Regions from separate parts of the Homo sapiens genome. Here region 2 is linked to region 1. The links are contacts of gene promoters, found by promoter capture Hi-C in human tissues and cell types (Jung and others, 2019). All regions are on one chromosome and are shown on one strand. Each heading gives the region's core, a stretch centred on a gene start or on the middle of the fragment in contact. The rest is flanking DNA. Distances are from core to core; before and after follow the strand shown. Region 1 holds the start of NRG3 (neuregulin 3). Region 2 has its middle 98 kb from the start of NRG3.

Region 1 (3,491 bases), core at 730-3,229:
ACTTTCTATACAAATAAACAGAAAGCTATCATGCTTTGGGTATACTGGCTCATACTGAGCCCAGGTTGAAGATGCTACATTCTAACGGTGACATGTTTCCAAACGGTTGGATGTTCTCACCCTTGAGTGCAGAAAACTCTCAACTCGTCTATATTTTTCAGGCACAGAGGGAGAGGAGATAAGGTTCACACCCCACCTTTGGGAACGGAACAAAAGCAAAGGCTTGGCAGGGCTGAAAAAAACTCCTCCTTCGTCAGGACCCTAGAGGTGGCAGCTCTGCAGGGCTCCCTTCATATTTCCTCCTAGTTAACTCACTCTCGGCGGTCACAGAATCTATGTCTACACCTTGGAATGGCCACAGGCAGGCTAGGAGGTCAGTTTAGCCCTTTGCCTTGGATCGCCTCCTTTCCCCAAGTCTCCCAGTGGCTTCTAATTAACCCTTTCTGGTTCCTGCCCAGGTCAGGGCTGCTGGAAGCGTCCTCAGCAACATTCTACCATTATCTCCATCAACTCGTCACCCCACACAAGGACATAACTTCCTTTTGTGGTTTATCGTCGGTCAATTTGCATGTGCTTTGCTTTCTTTCCTTCCTACCGGCGGGCGGAGAAGGGGCTCAGTGCCTTCGGGAAGGCCCTCTCTCCCTCCCTGGCCCTCTACTGGAGCGGGATCCGGCAGCTCGCCAGCAGGTCTGCAGTGAGGAGGGATCGCACTCGCGTTAACCCTTTGAAGGGAGTTGGGAGATCTGTTCTCACTTGGGACCCGCTAAAGTGGGGCCAGTGGAGCCTGACAATCTCCCTCCCGTTCCTACACGCCCCCACCCCCCCAGAACCAGAGCAGGCTGGCACCTTCTTCCCCGCTGGTGGCCAGTTTTAATCAGCTCTCACTCTGCCCCAAACCTGGGATGGGGGAGGGGGCTTGCTAGAAAACAGGCGGCGAGGGAAAAAGACAGCAGGAGGGCAGAAGGGAAACTCAGTAGTAAATCATAGTTGAGACACAGTGTTTACTTACGAAATTTGGGGCTGGTGCTAGTTTCTGGTGTGGTGGTGGTAGCGGAGGAGGAAGAAGAGGAAGAAGAGGAGGCAGCATCCTGAAAGGGAGACAGGGTCCAGGAGGGAGTAGAATCGTGAAGGTAGGAGGAGGTAGCGTATGCCGCAGTAGGCCAGGAGGGCATTGCCTGGGTACTTGGAGTTCCTGGCACCGGGGGTCGGGAGCCCAGCGTGCTGCTACTGAAGAACGGGGCCGTGGTGGACGGGACCGTCGCAGGGGCCGCAGTGTTCCGTGCTGTGGTGGAGCGCGGGCTGGCCCGGATGGGCACCCGGTGCCCGGGGAAGCGAGTGGGCGCCCGCGTGATGGTGGTCAGGCGAGTGCTAATCCGGTTGGGCGTCCTGGAGGAGGCGGCACCCCCGGCGGAGGGGGTGGCGGGGGACGTGGTGGAAGTGGTAGTGGTGGTGGTCTCCATGGCCTTGGGGAAAGAGCTGGGCTTGGAGAGGAAGAAGGGGTCCTGGCCCATCCCCTTGGAGTCCACTAGGTCGGTGGGCACGTACTCCTTGACGGAGCCCACCACGATCCATTTGAGAAGCATGAGGCTGAGCCCCAGGCCGATGAAGCCGATGAACAGAGGTACCACGCACAGCCACGTCTGCTGCCGGTTCCACACGATGCAGTCGCTACAGCGTAACTCCCGGGGGGGCTCGGCCGCCCCTTCGCCGCCGCCGTCCGGGCCCCCGCCCGCCGCTGCCGCCGCCGCAGCCGCCGCGGTGCCCTCCTCGGCCGAGGCGGCGGCTGCCGAAGCGGCACCAGGTGGCGAGGCAGCGGCCGCCCCTTCACTCATCCTAGGAGCCGGTCTTCACCTTCGCCCCCCCGAGGGCCGCGGCAGAGGCATGGGGCCGCGCGGGCCGGGCGCGGGCGCGGGCGCGGGCTCCGGCGGCGGCGGCGGGCTCGGGCGCAGGCAGCGGCCGCGGCGGCCGCATGCAAATCCGCTCCCTGCCCCCACGCCCCTCCCCCCGAGAGGCGGGCGGCGGGCGGGGAGGAGAGGAGCGGGGGAGGGGACGGGGCCGGGGAGGGGGCGGTAAGGAGCTCGGAAGAGGGGCGAGACGGGCCCCCGGCGCCTCCGGTCGGTCAGAGAGCGGCGGGGCGCGTCTGCAGCCCTCCAAGCCGCCTCCTGCGCGCCGGGTCCCCGCGCCCGCTGCTGCTGCTGCTGCCCGCCGCCTGCGTGCGCTCCAGGAGCGCCGACATCCTCGGGGCACCGCGCCCAGCCCGCTCCCTGGGGCGCCCGCTCGCGCCGCGCCTGGGCCTCGCGCCGCCTTCAGTGGCCCCGGCGGCCGGTCGCGGGGTGCCGGGTGCCCGCCACCCGCATTCCGACACAGAGGGCCTGCCTGGCCGCCGCGATCTTCGGCGGCTGCTCCGCGAGCCCGGGCGGTGAGGTGCACCTGTTCTTCAGCCGGCCCGCAGCCAACCCTCGGCCAGCACTCTTCTGGAGAGACCAATCCCAGCGCAGCGCGGAGGGCTAGCGGCCCGGCTCGCCTTGCTCCAGCCGTTCGCTGCTGCGCGCCGCTGCCGCCGCCGCCGGAGAGTCAAACTCCAGCGAACAGCGCCGCTGTCGCCGCCGCGAGCCAGGGGCTGGGGGCGCACCGGGCGCCCGCGGCGGGTGCGGTCTGACCCGCCTCCGAGGGACCCAACAAGCAGGCAGAGGATCGGAAATCACGCCCCGGCGCCCTGCCCGGTTGAGCGTGGGGGACGGAAGCGGGAGACTGCGTCGGGGGTCCCGGGGAACGCAGACCCCGGGCTGAGGGCGTCTCCAGACGGGCTCTGGCTGCCAGGCTGGTGCGTGTGTGTGTGCAGAATCGCCGCGGCGGGCTGGGATTCGGGCAGAGTAGCGCCTCCCACTAGCAGCTAATGCTGGTTTCTTAATGCACACAAGATAGATAAATGATCCAAGCAAACCCCCGTTTGCGGTGGGGTGGGGGGGCAAAAGCAGCTTCCGACCGATTGTGAGTCGTCTCCTGTACGGATCCAGTGGGGTCAGAGACTGACGCTGCTGGGCGAGGGGGCGGGGGCGGATGCGGGTGGGAGGGTGCCTGTGCCCTCCCCTGCCGGATGGCGGTGCGGCTGGATGGAAGGCCACCTTTGCCTGAGTTCCTGAGAGATGCAGGTGGAGCAGAAGACCTTTGTATAATCAGACCTGTCAGATATCTCCAAGCCATTTATGTGAACTTGCCTTAAAATATTGTCTTTACCTGTAAATGTACGCACAGGTACACACGTTACAAGGCAAGTGTTTGTGAGAGGTAAATATGAAAGGATTTGGGGTTGGACTCCCAAATTCCGTTACTGCTTTCTTCCCTTGGCTGGGGAGGCACCTGTGTACCTATTTCTCCAGCGCTGTGTGGTACCTGCCGAGGCAAGGGGCAAAGAGCCAGTGTTAGCATGACATATGCCGACAGTGCAAAACCTTGCTTGCCAACTCTCCCCAGATTTCCTGGTCTAAAGT
Region 2 (3,491 bases), core at 415-2,914, 98 kb after region 1:
AAATACAGTTTAAGACAGATGAATGTAAACAAACAAACAAAAAAACAAAACGACATCAGGCTTAACTGAGAATGCTTCTTTGAAAACAAAATAGTTACAGTAGTCCCCTCCTTTCCCTGGGGGGGATATGTCCCAAGACCCCTAGTGGATGCTTGCAACCAGAAATAATACTGAATCCTAAACCCTATATAAACTATGTTTTTTCTATATATACATACCTATGACAAAGTTTAATTTATAAACTGGCTCAGTAAGAGATAACAATTAATAATAAAATAGAACACTTATAACAATATATTGTTCACAATTTCATAGATAGAAGATTCATTATTACTATAGAGCTTAGTGACCTTAGCATATGGTCTTTTATTCTTTGCTTATTAAGTCAAGAACTTTCACCTTTCAACTTAAAGGAAGTACATTATAGCTTCTTTTTTGGCATAGCTGAGCTGCCAGCATCACTACTATTATACTTTGGGGCCACTATTAAGTAAAATAAGAGTTACTTGACCACAAGTATTGGGCTATCTGAACAGTCATTCTGGTAACCAAAAGGGCTAGTAAGTGACAAAGGGCAGGTGGTGTAGACAGCATGAAGTCACTGGACAAATAGTGACTCTACAAAGTAGACAGCATGTGATTTTGTCACAATACTCAGAATGGTGTGCAACTTATGAGTTGTTTATTTCAGGAAATTTCCATTTAATTAATTTCTACTTAATATTTTCAGACAGTAGTTGACCATGGGTAAGTGAAACTACAGACAGCAAAGCCCAGATAAAGGTGGACTACTGTTGAGTCATTCTGAATACATTAGCTAATAAACAATAAAATCACGATTCTGTGTGAAAAGCTGAAATTGGAAACCAATATTTTAATTTTCAAGTGTTATTCCACATTAGCAGAAGTTCTGTATGTTCTTATCACTGTATGATAAAAGCTTAGATTTAAGCTAAAATCACCACAGTAATTAAAATGCATGGTACATTTTGGGTTCATTTTGAATGAGTGAGATTTTCAACTAACCTGAAGCAAAACAAATCAATTAGGAAGCCATCTGGGCAAATTAAATCTCAGGAAATAGAAAATAAACATGTGAACCCTTAACACTGCCACGGCTTCTGATGGTTCTCAGAACGATCTACTGTCAGAGTTAGTAGATCTTTTACATAGATGAGTACTTCTCAACCCTGGATGAGTCTTATAACTCACCTGTACAAATTAGAATAAATACGAATGCCTAAACCCCTCCACAGATATTTTGATTTAATTGATATGTCATGGGGTCCAGGCACTGATATATTTAAAGTTCTTTAGGTGGTTTTATAAATTTCCATTTTCCCCATTATGCAGTAAGTAACAAATTACGTCTTCCATTTCCCTTGAATGTGGAAATTATGTTTACGAGTTCATTTACATGTTGTACATGGGCTACTAGAATACATTGATAAAATAACATGAAATATTTTCTTAATGTCTGTCTGTTATCAAAATGTTAACATTCTCAAGTATCCTCATGTACTAATAATGGGTGCATTCTTCCTTGGATTTTTCTCCTTAAAAATCTTATCTCAAAATCTACAAAATCAGAGAGAAGCATAAAAGAATTTTCACCAGTTAGATGCTTTTAGTGCTATGTTATAAAGTGATTAAATTTTTATAATAAGATTTGGGGCTTAGGACTCGAGCAGGACCTACTCTAATGAGCAGAAAGTGGGGGTTCAGTTGCCTGATAGTGGATCTAGGGTTGATGAAACATGGCAGGGAGTCATTAGGGACAGTAAATAAATTAGTGAATGGCTAAATGAATATTGGGCTTGAGATTTGATCAGAGGGGAAAACTTTGCTTAAGAAAGTTTGTATGTAGGATGTTTTTGGCGAGGACAAGGCTGAAATAGAGCTATGCCTCCACAGAGGTGTGGACTGATGGAATTGAAGACTTTTGTTGAGGAGACCCAGGAACTGTGAGATTGACAGTTAGCAGGGACACCCCCTTAATGACGTGGGTCACTTGGAAAAATAGCAGAGATCAAATGGGCTGGAAAGTAAGGGTGGGAGGCAGGTGCTAAAGTCCTTGAGGGACGTGAAGTAGTGTCCCAGGTGGTAGAACAGGGAAGTATAGAGAGAGTTGTGAGGAACATGGCGTGGGCTTTCAAAAGAGATGCCATTGAGCAGTGGCCTAAGGAGCCGCATTGCAGAGACAGAGAAGGACCCTTAAGCATCATGATGTAGTACATATGAAAAACAATCTGTAAACTAAAACACAAAGCATGGGTATTCTATAGACATTTGCTAAGGAGCCCATATTTGAGCTAATGTGAGCGAAATAAGTTTATTTCTTTATACACTGATACCAATGATTCTTTAAATAAGAATGACAGATAGTAAACTATTTTAATTAGGGAGCTTAGAGAAATATTATTTAGAAAACAGTGTACTTTTCCCTGATATATGGCATGGACAGGGAAAATCCACCTTTAATGTGAATATGGAGTGACATTTCTCATAAACTAGAAGTAGGAGTCTACGGATAAGTTCCAAGCGTGAGGCTGCAAGCCTTGAATGAATCATGTGATGGTGTACTGGGAAGAAAAAACAAAGAATGTGAGAGAGATACTGTTCAAATAGCCAAGAACAAGGCTGGCTAGATTTCATTCCTCTTTAGAAAAATTAGCTTTCGTTTTCAAACAGTGATTTGAGACTGTTCAATTTCTTTCCAAAATTGTTACTGAGCCTATATTATAAAAATCTAAGACGTTTGTTTTACTTATTCTCCTTTTTCTTTGTCCTTTTTTTTTCCTGTGTGCATGCTTGCTTGCACATATTCATTTCAGTAGAGAGTAGTCACGAATAATTGGCCAATATCCTAACCCCTAGTGGCTACCTGAAAAAGTAATGCACTTGGTTTTCTTTCAAAGAACAATGATTCTTAGGTCATGGAGACTTTTTGATGCTGTCCAGAAGTTTGACTGGACCAAGAGACACAGCAGATTTGATCCTCAGGGCATCTCACCTCCCACTACCTACCTTACTCATAAGAGCTGCCAGTTATATTCAAAGGCATGCTGGATTTGACAAATTTGTCTCTCCCACCCTCACACTTTAGCCAAATCAAACCTTTCTCTGCTCCTAAGCACTAATATGTTAGTGTTGGGCTTACTGTGCATCAGGTAACCTAAATGTGGGGTCTTCACACACACACACAAAGAAATATTAAAATAAACAAACTCTATCAACCTGTAAAATATAGAAGCTTGCATCTATGAGTCAGGAACTTGGCAGATTTCCTACAAAATATGTTGCTGGTGAGACTGGATAGTAAGAAACAGAAATAAAGTCTCTATATTTAGTGACAGCAAAGAGAGTTCCACTATGGTTATGCAGGAATGGAATGCACACAATAATATCTTAAATTCTCTATCTTAGCTCATCTTAGTCCTTTGACGAGGAGGTGGCAACAAAAAGCTGGAATCGAGAGTAAATTATGGGGC

What was found. Contacts are between HindIII fragments. The study calls those that stand out against the background at their distance.
Region 2: a contact is called between a fragment that was not itself captured here and the fragment with the promoter of NRG3 in region 1, in 4 of the 25 tissues and cell types used here (adrenal gland, aorta, heart right ventricle and 1 more).

What each region holds. Positions count from the first base shown.
Region 1 is chr10:81,873,682-81,877,172 of GRCh38, reverse strand. It overlaps NRG3 (neuregulin 3), which reads right to left and starts at 1,979. Exons shown (of 9, transcript NM_001010848.4): 1 at 1,010-1,979. The coding sequence starts at 1,832. It overlaps LOC124902549 (a long non-coding RNA gene), which reads left to right and starts at 2,655. Exons shown (of 2, transcript XR_007062377.1): 1 at 2,655-2,824. RefSeq lists an enhancer at 268-1,030. The HindIII fragment of the contact is 10,350 bases long and covers 1-3,491 here.
Region 2 is chr10:81,775,358-81,778,848 of GRCh38, reverse strand. No RefSeq gene overlaps it. Among named protein-coding and RNA genes, the nearest start is that of NRG3, 98 kb to the left of the region's middle. The HindIII fragment of the contact is 4,841 bases long and covers 1-3,491 here.